Regions from separate parts of the Homo sapiens genome. Here region 2 is linked to region 1. The links are contacts of gene promoters, found by promoter capture Hi-C in human tissues and cell types (Jung and others, 2019). All regions are on one chromosome and are shown on one strand. Each heading gives the region's core, a stretch centred on a gene start or on the middle of the fragment in contact. The rest is flanking DNA. Distances are from core to core; before and after follow the strand shown. Region 1 holds the start of FAM181B (family with sequence similarity 181 member B). Region 2 overlaps LINC02951 (long intergenic non-protein coding RNA 2951).

Evidence for each region. Contacts are between HindIII fragments. The study calls those that stand out against the background at their distance.
Region 2: a fragment that was not itself captured here is called in contact with the fragment with the promoter of FAM181B in region 1 in 1 of the 25 tissues and cell types used here (dorsolateral prefrontal cortex).

What each region holds. Positions count from the first base shown.
Region 1 is chr11:82,732,595-82,738,848 of GRCh38, forward strand. FAM181B (family with sequence similarity 181 member B) reads right to left here and starts at 1,270. Exons shown (of 1, transcript NM_175885.4): 1 at 1-1,270. The coding sequence starts at 1,135. The HindIII fragment of the contact is 21,418 bases long and covers 1-6,254 here.
Region 2 is chr11:83,074,010-83,080,263 of GRCh38, forward strand. All of the region lies in intron 2 of LINC02951 (long intergenic non-protein coding RNA 2951), which reads right to left. Among named protein-coding and RNA genes, the nearest start is that of RAB30-DT, 5.1 kb to the left of the region's middle. The HindIII fragment of the contact is 6,094 bases long and covers 1-5,295 here.

The DNA.
Region 1 (6,254 bases), core at 20-2,519:
CTGGAAAGAAGGGGGCGAAAGAGGCCAAATGGCCCCGCCCGTCCTCCCCGCCGGGAGAATCCGCAGCGGCGGGGTACAGGGGGCTCAAGGGCTCGTTCAAGGTCAAGCCGCCGCGGGGGGCAGTCAGGGGGCTCTTTTTGGTCGGGGAGCAGCCCGGGACGCTCCAGGGCTCGGGGTACAGTAGGTTTCCCACCACTGCCGGCGGCGGCTCAAAGAGGCCGGGCTCCAGCTCCGGGGGTCCCCGCAGTACGGAGGCTCCGGCGGGGAACACGTCGAGAGGCTCGGCGGCAAGCAAGACTGCCGCCTCCGTGCCGGCGCCGTAGTCGGGCCCCAGCAGCTCAAAGAACTCCACGGCCTCCGCGCCCTTCTCCAGGTCGCCCAAGCTCACGTCCGGCCCCGACGGGCCACACCCGCCGCCGCCTGCCCGGGACGGCTCCGTGAAGAAGGACGGAGGCAGATTGCGTGCCCGCAGCGGGACCTTCCTGGCCCCTGGGATCGCCGTGGCCCCCGCGGGGCCTGCCACGTCCCCTCCCGCGCCCCCAGTGCCCGCACCTCCTAGCCCGGCCGCCGGCGCAGCCACCTCACCCCCCGCCGGCTCGGCACCCCCGGGGACGTGGCGCAGCGAGTCGAAGAGCGCGGCCAGACTTCGGCTTTGCAAGCTGGCGGCCGCGGCGGCCTGCGACGCCTCCCGCCGGGGGGCAGCCTTGCCGTGGGCCGGGGCCGCGACTGTCGGGGCGCTAGGGGCGGCCAGCGGCCGTTTGGCTGGCGTGTCGGCGGCGCTCGGGGAGGGCGGGCCGGGGGGCGCGGCGCCCATGAGGCCGCTGCAGCGCTTGATCTGCTTCTGCAGGTACTTGCGGTGGTTCACCTTCCGCTTCGACTTGCCCGGCTTGTCCAGCGCCAGCTTGATGTTGCTGGACGCCGAGTCAATGAAGCTGAGTAGATCGCGGGTGGCCTCGCGCACGTCCCCTCCTTCGGCTCCCGACAGCAGCGCACCCGCCGGAGCCCCGGTCTCATCGTCCTCGAAACAGCAGCCCTTGTCCAGGGCTCCGAAGGCGCCCCCTAGCCCGTCCGGGGAGCCCCCGAAGCCGAAGGGCACGAAAGGGTGCGTGCTGAGGAGCGCCGCCTGCACCGCCATCGCCGCGGCTCCCGGGCTGTCCGCAGCGCTGCCCGTGCGCCCCCGCCAGCTCCTGCCCGCCGCCCAGACCCAGCTCCCGCCCCGGCGCGGCGCGCGCGGCGCAGCCTACTAGTTCCGGGCCTGGCTCGCTGCGCTGCCTCCCGGGGGAGCTCATTAGGTCTTGTAAGCAAGGGGCGGAGGGAGGGAGCGCGCGGCGACCGTCCCGGTGGTAGAGGGGAGGGGCTTACTTAGCCTGGCTTGGAGGAGTGGGGGGTCGCTTTAGTTTTCTGAGCTTTCTGAAGCTCAACGCCTTAACTCCTTCGTTTCCCTTTGCCCCGTGGTGTTTCTCTTGACTCCTCTAACCGCAAGGGGTGAGGAAGAGATGGCTGGTCTCAAACTCCAGTTCAGGCCCATGAGGCCGCTGCAGCGCTTGATAGGCTTCTGCAGGTACTTGCGGTGGTGCCTCTCCTGAGGCAAGAAGGCAGGAGTCTAGAGACGTGGGTTTCAGTCCAGCTGTATAACAACACCCACCAGCTTCTGGGCGCTTGCTTCTGCCAGGCGCTGTCCATCTATTATCTCATTTAATCCTTGAACAACAGCCCTGTGAATTACATGTTATCGCCATTCAACAAACGTGGACACTGCACCTCAGGGAGGTTCAGTGAGTTGGCCAAAGTCAGATCTAGCCCATTCTGACTCCAAAGCCATTCCTAAGCCCTTGACAATACTTGCGTCCTCTCTTGCCCTTGCCTTTCTCATCTATTAAGATGGGGAAGGAAAATGAGTATTTCTTAAAGCTCTAGACCTGATCCTAAGATTCTAACCTGAGTTTTCCCAGGATTCTCAAGCCCAGTGCTCTTTCTTCTTGACTGTTTGCCACTTGATTGTTACGAGTAACAATTGGCTAACAGTAAATTGAGGCCAGCAGTGGCCCATCTTTTATTAACACATAGCAGGAGGCAATGGAGAAAGGAGTCGATCTGGCTAAGCCCCCTGTTACTTGAGAACACTGTGTGTGTATAAAACTCTCAGCATGTTAGAATAAAAGATGGATTGGAACCTCTCCCCTACCTGTCATACCATTTAGGTTATCCCTGGAATTTTCATTGCATTTCAGGGATCATCATGAAGTTCACTTAAAACTAATTTCACCTGGGCAATCCTCTTTGGGATAGATAGAGAAAATGAGCAATAAGGTCATTTTCACAAGAGATTCAGAAGAGGCTTGGGTTCTGGTCTTAGCCACCACTCAATAACCTCATGACTTAGGTTGAAATCCTTGCTCTGCTGAGTGCATGGCTTTAGACAAACCAGCGTACTCTCTCTGTTTAGCTTACTCATGTTAAATGCAGGTAAAGTTGCCCTCCCCACAGGGCACTTGTGATATTTAAATGATACATTGTTCCATAGCCTGGATGAGTATTCACCCTTACTTCTCTGAAACACAAAAAGGTGACTATATCCCTTACGTGTCTTCTGGATCATAGGGTGTTCATGAGCATTAAGTGAGATCATAGATGCTTCTCAATTTGTGATAGAGCAACAACATCCTGATAAACACATTGTAAGTTGAAAATATTGTAGGTTAAAATGCATGTAATACACTGATTCAAGTTGGAAAATCATAAAGTTGAACCATCATAAGTTGGGGACTGTCTCTATATGAAAACACTGTGTGTGTGATAAAGTGTTCTCTAAATAAGTTACTCTAGTTTCGATACAGAGCTTGCATAGGAGAGACATAGACCATCTCTTTCAAAACTCTTTTTATTAAGCCTCACTTTGTAGATGTAGCGAAACCATTTTTGAACACCATGAAGGCACAGCCTTACCAAAGAAAAAAGGCCAGATGGGCCATCAGAGAAATACAAATCAAAACCGCAATGAGATACCATCTCACACCAGTTAGAATGACGATCATTAAAAAGTCAGGAAACAACAGGTGCTGGAGAGCATGTGGAGAAATAGGAACACTTTTATACTGTTGGTGGGACTGTAAACTAGTTCAACCATTGTGGAAGACAGTGTGGCGATTCCTCAAGGATCTAGAACTAGAAATACCATTTGAACCAGCCATCCCATTACTGGGTATATACCCAAAGTATTATAAATCTTGCTGCTATAAAGACACGTGCACACGTATGTTTATTGTGGCACATAGCAAAGACTATTATTCACATAGCAAAGACTTGGGACCAACCCAAATGTCTATCAGTGATACACTGGATTAAGAAAATGTGGCACATATACACCATAGAATACTATGCAGCCATAAAAAAGGATGACTTCATGTCTTTTGTAGGGACATGGATGAAGCTGGAAACCATCATTCTGAGCAAACTATCGCAAGGACAGAAAACCAAACACTGCACAGGTGGGAAATGAACAATGAGAACACTTGGACACAGGGTGGGGAACATCACACACCGGGGCCTGTCGTGGGGTGGGGGGATGGGGGAGGGATAGCGTCAGGAGATATACCTAATGTAAATGACAAGTTAATGGGTGCAGCACACCAACATGGCACATGTATACATACGTAACAAACCTGCACATTGTGCACATGTACCCTAGAACTTAAAGTATAATAAAAAAGAAAGAAAGAAAAAAGGCCAGATGAACATTTTTCATTTAGAAGATGAAGTAGCCACTTCCCAAACCCACATAGCTGAGCCAAACTTTTTATTTTAAATTCAAATTGGCTCAATTATCATGGACTTTTCATTTGAGTTACACACAGCATTTTGTCCTCCATGGCCGAACTGTCTGTTTTACTCTTGGTGGTATTCACATTCAGAAAATTGTGCAGACCTGTCACTGATTTGTGCTTCTTCCACTCCAGATGTGGATGTCAGCACTGCCCATCCCCTTTCCAACAGGGCCATTCCATAGGCTTCCAGGTCTGGCAGCCAAAAGCACTAACTTTTTTTTTTTTTCACCTTCTGTCAACTGAGCACTCTTACAAGTCCTTGGACACCAATTGCACAGTACTCTACATTTAATCGACATCTTATTCCGAAAAAACTCTTAATCCCCAGGGTTATCTAAATCCTAAAATCATATTCAAAATAAATGGAATATGAAAAGCTTCATATGTAAAAGTCTTTCTTCATTTCTATTGGAGTTCTGCACATCAAAGTTGATTTGAAGTTAGATGAGGCCAGGTTCAAATTCTGGCCCTGCCTATTGCTATTGAACTGCTTGGACAAGTCAGTTCATATTCCAAAGGCTCAAACTCCTTATCTGAAAAAAGGGAATGGTCATAATTGTTCTCAGGGTGAGAATTACATGACATAACAGGCAAGTAATGCCTCTGAATCTTACTTTTCTCACCTGCACAGTGGAGATAATCTCAACTCCTCAAGGTTGTTGTGAGATGGTATATATAAAAGCACCTCACACAAAATAGCAGTTCAACAAATGTCCATGTTCTTGATTCCTTAGGCCCCACCCATTCCTTACCAACACATTACCCTATGAAACCAGCATCATTTGTCCTTTCCCTCAGCAAAGTGAGTGACTATTTTCAAATGCAAGAGAGTAGCTATACTTGGGGGTTGTAGAAACTTACAAAAAGACAATGAAATACAGGAGAGAGAGTGCTAAAACTGGAGCCGGAGACTGACACTGGAGTCCAGTCCTGCCTTTATTATCTGACTGCCTATGGAAAAGTCACTTAACCTTCAGGACCTCGATGTTCCCATCCATAAATGGGGAATAATAACATAATCCTATTTGATAGGGCTATTGTGAAAATCAATAAGATAATGGAAATTGAAGTTTTTGTAAACCATGGAGCTGAAATTCATGGCTTAGAAGTTCTATAGCCTGATTCACAAAATTGATCCTTACAAATAAATATCCATCCAGTCACTGATTTTTTCCAACAGAAAGATATTGACACCCACAATGTGCTCAGCGCTATGCTAGTACTGGGGATACAGAGATAAGAAGCCATGATTTCTACCCTTTGGGTGGAAAGACAAATATGCAAACAAGCCATTGTAATATAATGTGATACATGTCCAATGGAAGTAAAAGGACCCTCAAGTCTGCCCACAGGAGTTGGAGAAGGCTGCATAGACATGCAGCATTTGAGCTAAGACTTAAATGATATATCTGACTGTGTAAAGCAAACACACAATATCTGTGGCAGAGAGAACAGCCTGGGCAGAGGCATGGCTAAATGAAAGCAGTGGTGTTTATGGGAAAATGTAGGCAATAGGGCAACAAAGAACAGCTTCTGCTTGAAGTAATTCTATACCTGAGACCAAAATAAATCCTTAGAGCTTCCACTGTCCAACTAAATTGTACATATAGACCCAGCCTCAAGGCCTTGGCTGCTTTTTCCCTTGATCTCCTTTCCTTTGAGGAAGAGCTCTATCTGGAATGAAATTGGTTTCAGTAAAGTTAGTAGCCAGCTCTAGCCAAGCCCATCAGTCCCTCCTCCTACTCCCTGAGTGAGCACATTCATTTGAGTGGCTTTGACATCAATACATTTCACTTCCTATGGAGCAGAGGGACCCGGCTCCAGCCTGCAGTAGGGGCTCTCTGCAGAACTCCAAACTAGAGCTCTTTCACCCCAGTGACGCTTAATGCTGTGCAAGTGGGATTAGTCTCCTTGGGAACCAAGTCCCCCAGGGGCTCAAGGGCTGAACTCGCCCCAAACCGTTTGGGAGAATTGAGATTTCATATTGTTCTTTTACACTTGGATTTCAGGACATTACTTAGACAAAAGCCCACCTGAGAGCTGCCTCCTTTCTTGTGGGTAAATATAGCAGCAGGATCAAAAGCTGACTTATTTATTTTGTTTTCGTCTTTTGTAACTTTAATCATATTCCCTGCAGGACAATCTTAGCCCTCAGAGATGTCAGGAATGTACATTCATAATGAAAGAAATAATTATGCATCTGTTTTTCTCTCCCTTCCCAAACCAATTTCCTGTCATTCATTATTTTTTAAATCTCGAATAAAGCAAATTAATTCCTGAATTTTACCACATGACTTATAAAGTATCATTATCATCATCACAATAGAGTGTTACCTTACAAATTGTGCACCCTCACAAATGTCTCTTGTTTTCTTTCTTATCGTTTTCCCCTGCAAACCAGATTCTACTAACACTAGATTTTAATTTATG
Region 2 (6,254 bases), core at 999-3,498, 340 kb after region 1:
AAAAGAGCAACAGATTACTCAGAAACCTTCTGTGTGAGCTGGGCATAGTAGTGCATGCCAGTAGGCTTAGCTACTTGGGAGGCTGAGGCAGGAGGATCACTTGATCCCATTAGTTTGAGGCTGCAGTGAGCTATGATTGTGTCACTGTACTCCAATCTGGACAACAGTGAGACTATGTCTGTTTTTAAAAAAGAAAGAAAGCTTGTGTTTGAGAAGTGATACCTCTAGAATACAGTGATTTCTATAATTTGTCATGTGTTTGGGTAGTTTGAAGTTTTTCTATCCTTGTATCTAATGGACATCTGACCATAAAGATGAAAAAATCCTGCACTCATTATAAATTTTATTTATAAAATTGATATTTGAGGAGTTGGGGAGGCCAGCTTCTGAAAAAATAACAGTGTCCCATAGAAACACCACAACTTAGGAAAATATTGTTAAAGTGGAATTAGGAATATCTAGAGGAGGTAAAGCTTTTCATCTCTCAAAAAAGAATTAGGGCCAGGCACAGTGGCTGACACCTGTAATCCTAGCACTTTGGGAGGCCGAGATGGGCACATCACTTGGGGCCAGGAGTTCAAGACCAGCCTGGCCAACATGGCGAAACCCCATCTCCAAGAAATAGAAAAGTTAGCCAGGTGTGGTGGCGTGCGCCTGTAATACCAGCTACTAGGGTGGCTGAGGCAGGAGAATCGCTTGAACTGGGGAGGTGGAGGTGGCAGTGAGCAGAGATTGAGCCACTGTACTCCAGCCTGGGCAACAGCAAGACCCTATCTCAAAAAAATAATAAAGAGAATTAGGACATGGATTTGTATTAAAATTATAGGTAGCTCATTTAAGAGTATGAAGCCAATTGCTGTTAGAGCAAGGGTTTTTTTCAGTAGAGGTGTCAGGATAACCTATACAGCTCTAAAAGTATATGGCTGTTACCTTCCCATCCCTGTTGAAATCTCCAGGGTTAGAACCAAGTATTGTGTTTTTAAAACTATAGGTGAGTCTACAAGAGTTGGGTGGAGTAGTCCTCTACATCCTGTGTTTGTATTTTTGCAGTAAGTCACACAATAACAAAAGCTTTGAGAAAGATTTTAGGTTTATTGCTAATTATACCCATGAATGAATTCTGAAAATGTGTAGATAAGGAATTTACCTGGTGAACGGTTTACACATGGCAATTGTGGGAGGGAGAGGGGAGTGAGAGGAGATGAGATCAGTTTTAGCTTTAAGAGGACCAACCGGGCCAAGCACGGTGGCTCACGCCTGTAATCCCAGCACTTTGGGGCCGAGGTGGGTGGATCACGAGGTCAGCAGTTCAAGACCAGCCTGACCAACATGGTGAAACCCCGTCTCTACTAAACATACAAAAAATTAACTGAGTGTGGTGGCGGGTGCCTGTAATCCCAGCGACTTGGGAGGCTGAGGCAGGAGAATCGCTTGAAACTGGAAGGCGGAGGTTGCAGTGATCCGAGATTGTGCTAATGCACTCTAGCCCGGGCAATAACAGCAAAACTCCCGTTTAAAAAAAAAAAAAAAAAAGGGACCAACCATGATATCCTGACTAACCTGTATATTTCTTAGAATGAGGGTTTAGCCTAATATTAAGAAAGTCTAATGTTAAGAGACACCTAGTAAGAGCTCAACGCTGTGGTAAAATTATGATAGTTATGCAGAAACTTAAAAGCTGAAGTATCCAGAGACAATATATTGTTTAGAATTTTCTGAAAATAAAAATTTTCTTGCCCTAAGTCTTGAATTTTTAAGTTATTGATGTTAATATTTATGATCTTTGAACAAATGATATTATAATAGAGTATCTTTTAGGTCACAGAGACCCCTTTTTAGAGCTGAGAAATCTTACAAATTCCTCAGCCCATGTTTTACAGATAAGGAAATGGGCATGCACACAGTGAAATTAAAAATTGCTAGTGGTCACACTGTACATTGATGGCAAAGGCAGGGCAGAATTAGAATCCAATTATCTTACCTGTTCAGTGTCTTTAATGATACAGCAAGCTCACCACTGTTTCTCTTTACTCTTTAAACAGTGGATTTTTTTTGTCATGATTTTGATTTCTTGTATAATGCAGTTCAATACTTGTTTAATTTTAATGTTGGACTCTCAATTTTTAAGACAGTAGTACACATGAAATGTGCTTTATATTTTATGTTTCAACAAGAAAATACACATTTTCCTTTTAATAGAGGAGCTTAAGTTCCTAATTTAAATAATTGAGTATGAGCTTCAGATACTTCAGAGTGGTATTAATAAACTTTGCTTTTCCAAATGGTTTCAGATAAGCATTTAATATTCAAAGCTTCCTCTTTACAGCTTAGGAAGTGGTCTGGTTAAGTGACTTGAGTTCATACAGGAATATATCGGTATGTTCCTAATTCCCATCAAGTGTACCATTATGTAATCATATAATCTTGCTAACAGATCTAACAGATTACTTTTTTTTTTTTTTTTTTTTTGAGACAGAGCCTTGCTCTGTCGCCCAGGCTGGAGTGCAGTGGCGCGATCTCTACTCACTGTAACCTCCGCCTCCCAGGTTCAAGCAATTCTTCTGCCTCGGCCTCCCAAGTAGCTGGGACTACAGGCAGGCACTACCACACCCGGCTAATTTTTGTATGTTTAGTAGAGACGGGGTTTCACCATGTTGGCCAGGCTGGTCTGGAACTCTTGACCTCAAGTGATCCGTCTGCCTCTGCCTCCCAAAGTGCTGGGATTATAGGAGTGAGCCACTATGCCTGTCCTCTAGGGAAAATCTTTAATTCATTCTGGACAATGAGAAAACTTTTATTTTTACTTTTAGTTAACAATACTCAGGAAAATAAAAAGTGTGCTTTTTAATCTTAGTAACCCAATTTGAGTTTGAAACAAATTTACATAATTTTAGCTGCTTAATATGCTGCTGAAGATAAATGCAGTAAATATCCCAAGGTCAAGATTTGAAATCCAAATGTCCATAGTAATGATTAACAGGAAAAGAGAGTCCTCTGTTAACTTTATTTCTCAATTTTTTACAGGTTTGGATAATTAAGGGAGCACTAGAAAACTTTTTTTTTTTTTTTTGAGATGGAGTCTGTTGCCCAGGCTGGAGTACAGTGGTACGGTCTCGACTCACTGCAATCTCCGCTCCTGGGTTCAAGTGATTTCTCTTGCCTCAGTCTCCTGACTAGCTGGGATTTACAGGCGCATGCCACCATGCCCAGCTAATTTTTGTATTTTTATTAGAGACGGGTTTCATCATGTTGGTCAGGCTGGTCTCAAACTCCTGACCTCGTGATCCACCCGCCTCGGCCTCCCAAAGTGCTGGGATTACAGGTGTGAGCCACCGTGCCCAGCCGAAAATGTTTCTTTGCAAGGATAAATATATGAAGATAAACTTGCCGAGCGTAAATATGTTCATGAATATAGCCACTTAAGGAAATTCAAACATGCAGAGATGTTCAGCTGTATGCAGTTATGTATTCATGAAGTATTCATGTATTCATGAAGCCTTATTTGATGTAGAATCTGAGGGTGCTGCCTATACATAAACTTGCTTAAAGGTTAAAACTTAAGGAATGTTCATCAAAGTCACTTTCTTACACCTAACTCCTGATTTCATGAATATAACACATAGGTGCTTATCAAACTGAATACCTTGGAGATGAGCTGCTCCAGCACCAGAAGATAAAATTCAGTAACTGTAATCCTTGAGGTACCTAAGTGATACATTTTTTTTAAGACTGAGCCAAAATAAAACAGCTTTCCTCCTTCCCTACCCTCTCCGACCAAACTTTTAGCCATTTTATTTATTTATTTATTTGAGATGGGGTCTAGCCATGTGGAGTGCAGTGGCTATTCACAAGCATGATCATAGCAAATGACAGCCACAGACTCCTGGGTTCGAGCAATCCTGCCTCAGCCACTCAAGTAACTAGGACTACAGGCGTATACTGGGGCTTCTAGCCATTTATATGGTATTAAGTGACAGCTTCTATAGTTACTTGGTACTTGTCCCTGTAAAACTGCACAGTGTGTATTCTCTTGGCTCAATTATTAGCATATTCTGCCATTTCCTTGTGAATGTTTTGTATTTTATATAGGAAAACTTAAGTTTTTAAATATCCTGAAATAACTGAAGAATTTTGTTTTTGCCTTTAAGTGGTAATGTATAAAGTATACTATTGCAGAGATACTTACAGAGTGCTTTCATTGCAATTAAAATACTGCAGCTAACTAGCATGTTCCATATGTGTAATCTAAATGACATACTGGTCATGTGCTATTTCTATGGAATACTAACAGTAGTATGGTACATTTATGCAGTCTCAACAGTTTAAAGTGTTATTTTGGTGATAAACTGTTTACATTTATTTGTTTTTATATTTGGCAGTCTAAATGCAAGAGTCTCCATTTCAGCTCTTTACTCTGCATATCTTTAATGTTGGGCATTATGCCTCTTTCTTGAGTTTCAGTCCTATGACTGTTCCATTTTCAGTATTCATGTTTATGTGTCTTTCTAAAATTGTTTTGCTTCTGTTTCTTGCTGCTCTTGAGACAATTTATGGGCAAATTTTGTTACTTTTCAACTGGCCGTGTATTTCCCTGTGAAGAGTTGCTGGATTGTCTCATTTTCCAGATAAACTGAATTAATGTAGTAGTGAGGAGAAGCCAGATTTCAGAGGTTTGACAAGTGAACAAATGGGAATGAGAAAAGAAGTAGGTACTTAAACTTTTAAGAAGTTTGGCTCTGAAAAAGGCAAGAAATAATGGGTTAGAGAGGGCAGGATTGTAAGGATTTAAGATAGGAGAAGAGGCATAAGCATATTTAAATTTCCCTACTTAAGGGCCAAAATCATACTGTACCTCAGTCTGAACTTTTTAAAGGAATTCAAGGACACAAAATTCTGCCCTGCCCTGAAATCCAGTCAGGAGGAAGGGAGAAGAGCTCTGAAGTACTTTTGTAATTTTCTTCTACATAATAATTGATTTTTGTTTGATTATTTTTCTTTCCTATAGCTCCTGTTTGCCAGGTTTTTCATAGCTGCCTATTTAACCAAACTTGTACTCCCAAGAATAGTGCATATTTATGATTCTTAATTCCAAAAACACATGGCAATGATAATGTCTCTGCTTCTTTTGAGAAATTAACTTGGTTCTGAAAGATGGTGTTTGCTTTTCACACCTGTATCATTAATACTTCCTTGCCAAACCTAACTAGGATCCTCACCACCACTGTTAGAGAAAACTGATGCTCAGTTGAACCAGAATGTTAAATGTGAACAGGATTTGTCTGTGTTGTTGCCCAGCTATGTTTATCCATACACATTACCTGGAGGAAGAGAAATCTGAGATAATTGAGTTGATTAGATTACTTACATGAAGATGGTTTAATTGTATCAATACAGAAAAATGCACAAGGAAAGAAACTGACACCTTAAGGCAACAAAGCCCTCCATAAAAAGTAACCGAATTTTGAGAGTTACGAACTAATGTCCATTACCTGAAGTCCTTCTCATTCCATTACCCAGTAACATAAATCAAATTCAGTAAATAAGCTGCTTTATGTCTTGAGAAATTTAACTGGCAGAATAAATGGAAAGAAGTCAGTAAAAAGGGAGCAGTTGAACAAGCATGGTGTCTCACACCAATAACCCCAGCACTTTGGGAGGCCGAGGCAGGTGAATCACTTGAGGTCAGAAGTTCAAGACCAACCTGGCCAACATGGTGAAAACCCATCTCTACTAAAAATGCAAAAATTAGCTGGGCTTGGTGGCAGGTGCTTGTAATCCCAGCTACTCAGGAGGCTGAGGCAGGAGAGTCACTTAAAACCCAGGAGGCAGAGGCAGTGAGCTGAGATCGTGCCACTGTACCCCATCCTGGGCAACAGGACGAGGCTCCATCTCAGGGAAAAAAAAAAAGAAAAAGCTGAGCATGGCGGCATGTGCCTGTAGTCTTAGCTACTCAGGAGGCTGAGGCAGGAGGATCACTTGAGCCCAGGAGTCGTAGGTTGCAGTGGTGCCATTGTGTTCCAGCCTGGGTAAGAGTAAGGCCCTGTTTCAGTAAAAAGAAGGGAGTAACCAAGACAGGTAGGGATTCAGTATAATAAAAGTCAAAAGTAGTTGTTTATTACTAGAGCCTGGCACTGTAACCTGGTATGTCCAAATGTGATTTAATTTGCTCTCAAGATGTGCACCAGAAGAAATAACCCGAGGCATTTCAAAGAAAAAACAAAATGTGACCTGCTAGTTCTGTTACTCTGCCACAA